Regions from separate parts of the Homo sapiens genome. Here regions 1, 3 and 4 are each linked to region 2. The links are contacts of gene promoters, found by promoter capture Hi-C in blood cells and fetal thymus (Javierre and others, 2016). All regions are on one chromosome and are shown on one strand. The core of a region is centred on a gene start or on the middle of the fragment in contact, and the rest is flanking DNA. Distances in the headings are between cores, read along the strand shown.

What was found. The method cuts DNA at HindIII sites, captures the fragments that hold promoters and counts their contacts. A CHiCAGO score of 5 or more calls a contact.
Region 1: a fragment that was not itself captured here is called in contact with the fragment with the promoter of ADAMTS1 in region 2 in 1 of 17 cell types (M2 macrophages); the score reaches 8.9 in M2 macrophages.
Region 3: a fragment that was not itself captured here is called in contact with the fragment with the promoter of ADAMTS1 in region 2 in 3 of 17 cell types (M2 macrophages, M1 macrophages and M0 macrophages); the score reaches 6.1 in M2 macrophages.
Region 4: a contact is called between a fragment that was not itself captured here and the fragment with the promoter of ADAMTS1 in region 2, in 5 of 17 cell types (M2 macrophages, M0 macrophages, M1 macrophages and 2 more). The highest score is 19.0, in M2 macrophages.

Annotation. Positions count from the first base shown.
Region 1 is chr21:27,547,789-27,550,551 of GRCh38, reverse strand. No RefSeq gene overlaps it. Among named protein-coding and RNA genes, the nearest start is that of LINC01673, 89 kb to the left of the region's middle. The HindIII fragment of the contact is 3,738 bases long and covers 1-2,763 here.
Region 2 is chr21:26,844,077-26,846,776 of GRCh38, reverse strand. ADAMTS1 (ADAM metallopeptidase with thrombospondin type 1 motif 1) reads left to right here and starts at 1,368. Exons shown (of 9, transcript NM_006988.5): 1 at 1,368-2,552. The coding sequence starts at 1,823. RefSeq lists enhancers at 1-583, 584-1,184. The HindIII fragment of the contact is 3,865 bases long and covers 775-2,700 here.
Region 3 is chr21:27,581,415-27,584,121 of GRCh38, reverse strand. No RefSeq gene overlaps it. Among named protein-coding and RNA genes, the nearest start is that of LINC01673, 56 kb to the left of the region's middle. The HindIII fragment of the contact is 2,666 bases long and covers 1-2,631 here.
Region 4 is chr21:27,564,026-27,566,725 of GRCh38, reverse strand. No RefSeq gene overlaps it. Among named protein-coding and RNA genes, the nearest start is that of LINC01673, 73 kb to the left of the region's middle. The HindIII fragment of the contact is 4,324 bases long and covers 1-2,700 here.

The sequences.
Region 1 (2,763 bases), core at 204-2,703, 700 kb before region 2:
CTGAAAGCCAAGGTTTTTAGCAATGTAACTACACTGTTGACATTTGACTGTACAATATACACAGTTAAGGCAAGTTACACATTTGGCAAATATTCTAAGATTCAAATTTAGCAGGCACTTCAGAATAATTTGGCTTATGACCAGGTTTACTTTAGATTAGGGACATGGCAAGAGTTCTTTGTTTTACTTTATACTCTAAGGAAGGCAGTTGATAAATATGTATTTATCATAGAAGCCAAAGGAGATTTTTGCTATGAATATCAAAAACAAATTAGACTAGAAAAACAATTATTTGTCTTTCCCTTTACTATTATTAAACAACACCTTCTACTTAATATCGAGCCCCTAAAGTATGTGACAACACTGCTATTTTAAAATGTTACATATTTGTTAGATCCTGTACCCTGGTGATGAATAATGCAATACTCACCAATGAATAGAAACTACATTTTTAATTAAAATCTATTATATTAAACTGAGAAACAAATTGCAAAATCTACAAAAATAGTCCTCCTACAGTTAATTAAATATTATAAATGTGCTCTTTAAATCTCAAAAAGAATAATCTTTTAATATAGGACTTGATATGCAAAGGTACAGCTTATATTTGTAGTTAAACTGATCATAAATAAGAAGAAATAAAGTTAATGTTTTAAGTCCATCATATTTATACATAATTAAATAGGAATATATAATGTATTACTTTGGGTTTTATTTTTAAATCAATAAAGACCATGCCTTGAGCAGTTTGAAGGTTTTATCTAATTGAAAACCAGACATATTTTTGTCTCTTTTTTTTTCCCACAAGCAAAACACCCTTTTACTTATTCTCCTGATGACTTAATGTAATAAACTTAATAGTGTAGACTGATCCATATCTAATCTTGAATTCTAAAAATCATTAACTAAAATGAACTACATGTCTTCGATTTTGAAATAATATGGCATTTTAGATCCCCTGGTAACCTACTATAGTTGGAATACATATTTTCAGATAAAACATTGGATGACATATTGCACTGTATAGTATATCTTTTAATAGGTACATACAGCCAAGTATGAAGTAATTTGTCCATGGTTGGAGGTTGATCAAAATGATTTTAGAATTTAGGTTTTTAAAAATAGGGCAGTAGCATAACTACCACAGTAGTGGATGATGGAAGTCAAATACCTTTAATACTCATAAGTACCATTATTAATAAATCTGAATCAATCAGGAGATGAATGACATGATTATCCATGTTTCTAGCGTGCGACTTCCATATATAAAGGTTACATGGAGATTGGGGAAATAAAATTATTTGAAGAGAAAAAGACACGTTGTTCAGTCCAATGAACAATTTATCGTTTCAAACAATTGAAAAATATAATAATCTCTACCATTTTTCAAAGTGAACCAGAATTTATAATTAAGTAAAGTATTATTGATTTTTGATTATCAAGGCCTCTCAAAAATTTAGAATTCAGGAGCAGAAGAATATGGTTAATTACCAAATAATATATTTATTCCTTCTTTTATATCAATGCTAAAGATTAATAAATAATAGGCTATTGGATGCCCATCATTGGCAACCTGTCTGTTTTATATTATAGTGCATGCTTCATGGAGTGAGTGGTGGAAGACTTTGTATTGCATTTCATATTGTTTTTTACAATGAAGAAACACCACAGAGAGGCTGTAAAGACTACAACAAGATTGTTCCAAATTAAACAAGTTAGAAAGAAAAACAAATTAGCAGTCAAAGGCTGAGTGAAGTGATAGTTTAAAAACAATGCCAGATGTCCTGATGGGGATTATTTTCTCTACGTGCATTTGAAAGTGGGAACTCTGCAAATACCCTAGAATAAAAATCAACCAGGGCAGAGTTGATATCAGCATATAAACATTTCAGCTCATCAATTTGAACAGCCACTGTAAATGAGTGGAACCAAGTTGTTACACGGTCCTAACCTAAACATAATTTGCTTTGCTCTTGGCATTTGGTTAATATTCATCTCTTTCACTTACGGGTCTTCGCAGCTTTCATGACAACACCACAGGCTTCTCTTCAGACATAGCCAATAACTGAGAGGGTAAGATCTTCTGAATGGGCAGCAAAGTTCAGAGAATATCTATAATAAACTTCAGCGGTGAAAATAATTTCCCTATTCATTTTATATTCGACCAGAGGGGTAAAATTCAGAAACAGGATTTAGTAATTCAATATCTGTTATGAAACTGGATGGACTGCTGATTAAATTAATTATTTTGTTATTATTTCTAATGCTTTTCAGTGAACATATGACACTCAGAAACCAGAAGAACATCTGATTTTATAGCACAAACCCAGTTATGTCATTCAAAAGCATTTGGTTCCAGTATTCAGAATGCCAGTCCATGATCTCCTCCTTCAGCCATGTCCTCTCCTCCTAGCCTTCTTCTCTGCCCCACCCCCACCTCTGCCTTCTTCTTTCCTTTGCGAATAGCAGAGATGGCTTTCAACCTTATAATCTCAACCTCATTCACTTGCTTATTTAATCATCATGGTCCTAAAATCCACATTTGCAATAAAATGAGATATTGAAAAAATTCTTATTTTTCCCTATTACTGAGCCCACTTGAAAGAAAGGAAATCCCTTTAATATAACTCTATGTATCCAATGTGCATCTGAAAGACTCCAAACCTCTAATCCTATATGACTGAAAAGATGGCATATGAAAGAAAATATCAGTCCCCTGACGTTTGCTGACTGCTGAAGCCAAATGTCCCACACATTCACTCA
Region 2 (2,700 bases), core at 119-2,618:
GTGGGGAAGATCTGGGGAGGAGCGAGGAAAGGACCCAGATCTACTTGGAGCCAACCAAGAGACCGGACGGGAGTGGGGCGGAAAGGCGGAGACCAGTTCGAGCACTAACGCGGGGGCGCGCGAGTGTGAGGGTTGCGGGTCCGCCCGGGGCTAGGGCGGTCGCTCTCGCCATTGTCCCCGCGGCTTTCCGCCTGTGAAACACGTCCTTCCTCTGGGTCCTTGAGCCCCTCCCACTTTTTGGAGAGAAGAGCCACTCAGTTTTTTTTCCTAAGGACCTGTTGGTGGACCTCTCCTCGCTTTCGTAACGCGGATATAGCCTTTTCCCTTCCTGGTAGGAAGAGGAAGGAGGGGTCCGGGAAGGAAGCCGATTTCCTTCTTTCCCCCTCTGCACGCTTGCTAGCCCCAGCGATCGCTGCTGGCCCCCGGGTAGGAAAGTGGGGTTCCTGGCCGTTTCTGCGACGCTGGCCTAGGGCTTGCAGCTGCTGTTGAGTGAAAGCACGCAGACTGGCGGGAGCCGATCATTTCTCGAATGAAGAAGAAAAAGCGCAATTCCCTCCTTATGCTCTAGGGAATTGAGCCGCGTCCCAGATCACCCATTCCAGAAATGTGAAACCGGGCCCTCACAAAGTCGTCTCTGGTGAAGAGGTGGCGTGCGGGGTGGGGGTTGGTGGAGGGTGAAGGCATAAGCAAACATATTTTAAAATCCAGATCGTAGGAAGTGTCACCTGGCCCCTCACCCAGGCATGCTTTCTGGGGGAAGCGCAGGGCCAAGCTTTCCCTAGAAAAGCTGGGGCGAAGAGAGAGCAGGCGGCGGCTAAGGAGCTCCTGGCAGGCTGGGAAGGTGGAGAAGTGGGGTGAGGTATTTTTCTAGAAAGTGTAGCCCTAGCTCATCTCCTAGATTGGGGAAGAGGGAACTGAGGGAGGAGGGAAGGAGACCCAGGGCAGCTCCAGGATAGGGAAATGTTGAAGAAGGGACTGCGTTCTCCAACCGAACCCTCCCTCCTGGGAACCGCAGCCCAGCGCGGTAACTGAGTTACCGCAACCGGGCGGTGGGGAGGAAGGGTGGTCCAGGAAACCGGCGAGGGAGAAAAGCGGTGGAAGGGAGAGTCTTCTCCCTGGAGCGGCCCCAGCAGTACAAAGTGCTGGTCACAGCGCCCCTTCCGCCCCTAGATTGACGAGCAGTGGCGTGGAGCCAGCGCGGAGGCTGCCCCCTCCCCCTCCCGAGCCCGCAGCGCGGAGCGCGGTTTAGCACCAACGGAGCCGGGGGCGGCGTCTTTGGGATGGAAAAGGGCCAAAGGGGAGGAGTGGGGTGGGGGTGGGGGTTTCACTGGTCCACTATAAAAGGACCGCTCGGCTGCCCGGTTCTTGCACTCGCTGGAAAGCGGCTCCGAGCCAGGGGCTATTGCAAAGCCAGGGTGCGCTACCGGACGGAGAGGGGAGAGCCCTGAGCAGAGTGAGCAACATCGCAGCCAAGGCGGAGGCCGAAGAGGGGCGCCAGGCACCAATCTCCGCGTTGCCTCAGCCCCGGAGGCGCCCCAGAGCGCTTCTTGTCCCAGCAGAGCCACTCTGCCTGCGCCTGCCTCTCAGTGTCTCCAACTTTGCGCTGGAAGAAAAACTTCCCGCGCGCCGGCAGAACTGCAGCGCCTCCTTTTAGTGACTCCGGGAGCTTCGGCTGTAGCCGGCTCTGCGCGCCCTTCCAACGAATAATAGAAATTGTTAATTTTAACAATCCAGAGCAGGCCAACGAGGCTTTGCTCTCCCGACCCGAACTAAAGGTCCCTCGCTCCGTGCGCTGCTACGAGCGGTGTCTCCTGGGGCTCCAATGCAGCGAGCTGTGCCCGAGGGGTTCGGAAGGCGCAAGCTGGGCAGCGACATGGGGAACGCGGAGCGGGCTCCGGGGTCTCGGAGCTTTGGGCCAGTACCCACGCTGCTGCTGCTCGCCGCGGCGCTACTGGCCGTGTCGGACGCACTCGGGCGCCCCTCCGAGGAGGACGAGGAGCTAGTGGTGCCGGAGCTGGAGCGCGCCCCGGGACACGGGACCACGCGCCTCCGCCTGCACGCCTTTGACCAGCAGCTGGATCTGGAGCTGCGGCCCGACAGCAGCTTTTTGGCGCCCGGCTTCACGCTCCAGAACGTGGGGCGCAAATCCGGGTCCGAGACGCCGCTTCCGGAAACCGACCTGGCGCACTGCTTCTACTCCGGCACCGTGAATGGCGATCCCAGCTCGGCTGCCGCCCTCAGCCTCTGCGAGGGCGTGCGCGGCGCCTTCTACCTGCTGGGGGAGGCGTATTTCATCCAGCCGCTGCCCGCCGCCAGCGAGCGCCTCGCCACCGCCGCCCCAGGGGAGAAGCCGCCGGCACCACTACAGTTCCACCTCCTGCGGCGGAATCGGCAGGGCGACGTCGGCGGCACGTGCGGGGTCGTGGACGACGAGCCCCGGCCGACTGGGAAAGCGGAGACCGAAGACGAGGACGAAGGGACTGAGGGCGAGGACGAAGGGGCTCAGTGGTCGCCGCAGGACCCGGCACTGCAAGGCGTAGGACAGCCCACAGGTAGAAGAATTGCTCTCGTTTGTCTGTCCATTCATCCTCCTCTCCTCACTTTATCTATCCCACGCGACTTCAGGGTAGACTCCTGCTGGCAGGCAGGATCATAAGTCCGCGGACAGAACGGAGGCCTGGAGTGGAGGAATGTGGTTTG
Region 3 (2,707 bases), core at 49-2,548, 740 kb before region 2:
GTCTGGCTATATCAACCGGCTGGAGTGCAGTGACAACATAGACATGAGCATACTGTAGTATAGCCGTGAACTCCTGGGGTCAAACAGTCCTCCCACCTCAGCCTCCTGAGTAGCTGAGACTACAGGCACATGCCACGGCACCTGGATGATTTCATTCAGTTTAAAATAATTTACAAATTCTGTAGATCTTAGCTAAACCCTCTGGATTTTGGGTTCTTCCTTCTGATCTGTTTTCCTTTTCCCTGAGAACCAACCTGTGTCAGCAGCTAAAGAGTTTTCTCATCCAGTTTTCTTTTCAAAGATATTTGGTGGCCCGGAAACCTATTTTCAATTTGAGAACTTCCAGCTCCTTAGTCCGAACTGGCTTTGATTCGCTGATAAATTCTTTTGAAGAGTTCATGGGATTTCTAAACAATGGATTATACTCTAGTATGTTAGAAAAAAAAATAAAGCCATATCTACATTTGCTTTCCAAAAAGCCCACTCTCTACTTTGGGCAAGTGTTGGGCTGTTATGGGACTAGGCCTAGAGAGTCTTGAAATCCATTCTTCTAGCTTGAGATGGTCTATCAGATTCAAAATCTTTCTGAGCTTTAAAGAGTCTCACATCCATGTTTGAATAATTTTTGGCCACAGGCCTCATTTATTTTAAGAAACTTTTAGCCGCTTTTGAAACTAAGGATAGAAGAAATGTTGTCTTTCTGTCCAACCGGTCCCTGTATATTTCCTCAAAATTCTGATCACAAAATAAATAATTCCTTCAGCTCATCTCTTTTGCTTCATTTCTTATTAAAGGAAACAAAATAAGCGAAATTACACTGTCCATGTTCTACCTGGCAAATAATCTTGGCAAAATTTATAAGATAATTTTGCCAGCTATCTTGGTGTCATCATCTGAATCCCCAGAACAGCTTTTTCTCTGCTCTCCCAGTCTCAGAATAATAATATATTTTTTTCTGACATTTTTCCAGACCTCAGCCAATAGCTAGCCAATTAACAGGGGTAGGTTACTTAGTTACACGTCAACTATCTGCAGATGTATGAGTGAGCCCAGCAAAAACCAGCAGAAAAAAACTGCACTACTGACCCCAGCCACAATGGCAGATTACACACATTTGTGAGCCAAATATTAATAGTTGTTTTAAGCATTCAGTTTTGTGGCAGTTTGTAACAACACAACAATTGAGAACCAATAAATGTATTCTAGAAAAATTATTCTAGAATAATTTTGGAGTGTGCCCCACTCCAACACTTCTAGCTCTGAGGTAAAGAGGGTGGTTTAAGTATGCTCAGTTTCTTCTCTCAAACATACCATTTAGTTAAGTCATATTATCCCCCATGGAGAAAAATGAGTTATAATTGGAGAGAGAAGCCAGGAATATCATTCAAACTGAAATTCTCTTCAAATAGAAACATGAGACTGAGAAAATGGAGATACCTTATCAATAATACTCATAAGATATGAATAGCTCAGTTAAAATTAGGTTGAAGAATATGAATTCACAAAAGAAAGAAATATTAACAATAAATATACATTTTAGTTTAGCAGTTGTATTAGAAGTACCACAAGTGTGAGCATCAGTGTATGATCTGCATTTGGTAGCCTCACGATCCCTTTCTTGTTGGCCCTGATCTGCGTTAGGTAAGGAAGGTGCAATCCTTTGATTGCTTAGGACTGAGTAATCAGCCCAGCCCAAGACCAGGGTATCAATGACTTCTGCCAAGTCATGGAGCCTGAGAGGTCAATCAGAGCATTTCCATTTGAAGTGGGAATAGATGCTAAGTGGTTCAAATAATATATGCCCACTAAAACATCCCTAACAAGAAATGAATTAAAATGAAATGTATTCAAAATGGGACAGCAAACATATTAAAAATGATAAAATACAATTATTCTATTATTCTGTCACCCAGGCTGGAGTGCAGTGATATGATGGTAGCTCACTGGAGCCTTAAACTCCTGGGCTCAAGTAATCCCCCTACCTCAGCCTCCCAAGTGGCTGGGACTACAGGTATTAGCCACCATGCCTGGCTAATTTTTTAATTTTTTGTAGAGACAAGGTCTTGCTATGTTGCCCAGAGTGGGCTTTAACCCCTAAGCCCAAGCAATCTTCCCACCTTGGCCTCCCAAAGTGCTAGGATTACAGGTATGAGCTATGGCACTCAGCCTAATTATTTTTTATAGAATCATACAAAAACAGAGTTATTGAAATGTTTAGTCATATCCAGCAAAGCTACAGATGCTATTTATTTGTAATATTTTAAATTATAGAAATTCTTTATGCTCTGATCTTAAAATACATATTTCTAGAGTTTTTCCAACCAAATTTAAAGAAAAAAATATATACACACATATATATCTGTATTTTAAAATAATATATCTATACACACATATTAATTAATATACAAAGAAACAGATATAACCTCACGTATGTTTAAAAACAATTTGCTGTCAAAGTGTAAATAACTTTAATACTAAATACAGTTATATAGTTTATATACATGTTCTAATTTGTATAGTTGGTGTATGTTTTTATATGTATGTATATATAGTATTTAAGTTGCATACATAGATTGACAATCAAAGCCTAATATAAAGAAGAATCCTATAGAATTGACTTCATTTAAAGCTTTAACTTCTCACAGTTGCTATGATGTACTGCTCTGAAAATGTATCATTAAAGATGTGTCATAGACAGTGTTTCATG
Region 4 (2,700 bases), core at 12-2,511, 720 kb before region 2:
ATTTGAGAAGCTGCGTCTTTTGGCAGCATAGATCAGCTGTTCAGGGACTCTCCCCATTCTTCTCCCCCTTTCTCTTTTCGGCTTTGAGACCGGTGCCAAATTAATCACCACTATAATCAAAACTACGATGTTTCACTTTCCCATAATTCCATCATTGTGCGTGATATAAAGTGTGGAACATACAAAAGTTTGAGCTTCTAAGAGAAAATAGACATACATACTTGTTGAATCAAGAATCTCTGCCTCTGTCATGTCTGACTCCTTGCACCCATGATTTAAATTTACCTCGTAGCAAAGAAGGCATGAGGGAAATTCTGTACTATAAAAGGGTGCCTCCATGAGATTTCCCCTAAATGTTCAGATAATCAAGGTTATCCATATGGGGCAGCAGGGAACTAAACAAAAAGTTTGACTCATTTGTTCAACAAATATCCATTAAGCGACTACTATGAGCTACCATACGAAGTGCTGGGAAGACAGTCAAGATGAAGCCCCTGATCTCAAAATGCTTCCGGTCCAGGAGTAGAGTGTGGCTAGAGGCTGGGAGAAGACAAAATTCACTACGTAGGAATTTAAATATAACCATGGTAACATTGGAAGGTGAAATTCAGGGAGTTGTTAGTTTGAGATGGTTGGTGTGACCCGGAAAAGGTTTTATTGAGGTAATGGTATTTCAATTGAGAGTTAAAGGGTAGGAATGGTGGCAAGGGCAGAATCCCGGCAGAGGAAAAAGGTGTTTAGATTCAGAGTTGGGAATGGCTTTGGTCATTAAAGAAAATAAGTAAAACAAACAAACAAAAATCAATATGCTTGAAACAGAGTAAACAAAAAGAGGGGCTAGTTAAAAATGGGCTGGAGAACCAAGCTGAGGCTGGAATCTACAAAGCCCTGGAGGCCTCCTTAAATTTTTTTCATTTTATCCTAGGAGGAATTAGAAATAACTACAGTTTGTTATATAAAAGATGACTCTCAGAATTTAAAAAAAAGAATTTTAAGGTTTATTTGTTTATGTATTGCTAGTTTGCTCAAACATCACCTTCTTAAAGAGGCCTACTCTGTCTCTTCTCTTAGTACAGCAAGCTGGCTGCATCTCCACCCCTACTCCTCCCAGTGGCCCTTAATACACTGTGGTTTTCTTTATGCCTGCTACCAATCAAGTCATTTACTCATTTATCAAGTTTATTGCCTATTGTTTGTTTCTGCTCACAAGTGCAAGCCCCCCATATGCAGAGCTCTGCAACATCTGATGCTGTATTGCACGCAGCTTCTTAGAGCAGCATCTAATATAAAAGAGAACTGTGCTCAATAAGTATTGACTCAGCACATGAGCTTCCCTAGGCAAAATCACTTATTATATCTTTGTTCTTCATCAAAAATTCACACTAGGCAGTTTAAACTTAATTAAGGTAGTACATAAAATAAATTGCTTTTTTTTTCTCCTTGGGAGCTTTGTAATGAATAGTCTCAGCATTATTTATTTAAGCTCTGTAGCAGACATGGTCACATTCTCAGCAGAGAGGTCATGAACAAAATATTCTCATCCAAGGAGATTTTTTTGTAGATTAGACTCAAGAGGTCCAACATTGGCAAGTCAGCATGTGTGATATTTTTCTAGGCCTGTTCTCACACATATCCATTTCTAATTCACAATCCACAGTACAGACTTCACATTTATAGGAGTCAATTTTTAAGTTCACGTAGTGACCCCTCAGATATGTAGCTATGTAATCTCTAGCAAAAGCCCAAGTACTTTTTTACCTCCTGAGATATCAGTGCTAAGAAAATGGTGGGCTTTTGTTTTTAAGGATGCAGCTCTTAGTCTATAGAGGGTTTGAGCAGCTGACCAGTAGAGGGCACCTGCCACTCTAAAATTGCCTCATGTCCTGTCAGTCTAGAGACACAGGCTTCACTGATTTATAAATAAGTTATTATTGCCTTCAGAATATTTTTATTTCCTTTCTGATCATCCAATATTATTGATTTCTAACACAAGTAATATGTCATAATAAAAATAAAGATTCATAAAGAGAAAAACTAAATCACTAATAGTACGATTACCCGGAGATAGCATAACCACTATTAATGTTTGATATTATTCCATATTATAATACATGCATCTGAATTCCATGTATTTCCCCAAATGGGATCACAAAGTAAATGCTATTTAATAACTTAAAAATAGATGAAATATGCAAGTTGAATCTAGGGCTATATCTTATAATGCCAGAAAGTCCTAAAAAAAAAAGGAAGAAAAGAAAACCCACAATGATGGGGGCATGTCAAAGGGTCCGAGGAACAAACTGAAAAAGCTCCAAGTGTCCATAGCTAGAACAATTTGGGCAACAAAGCAAACAAAGTAGCATTGGATTATGGTCCAAATTATAAAATCAATGTCTGAGTCCATACAGATATCAATACACAATTGAATAGGTAGTAGAGAAGAAACAAATCTGCCTTGTAGAAGAATACCAAATAATCAAAACAACTCACTTCTTCAGTATGAGCTGTTAATAGTGACTTTCTTCCAAAGGGTGCAATATGGAAAGAGTTGAAAAATAGTAAATTTACAGTGGAAAAACCTAACACCACCTTAACTAGGTGACCAAGGTCAATATCAACAAGTCATGTTGACTGTATGTAGCTTTAATATGTTGTTAGGAAACTAGCACTTTACCTCTATGATATTCCTCTATAACAGAG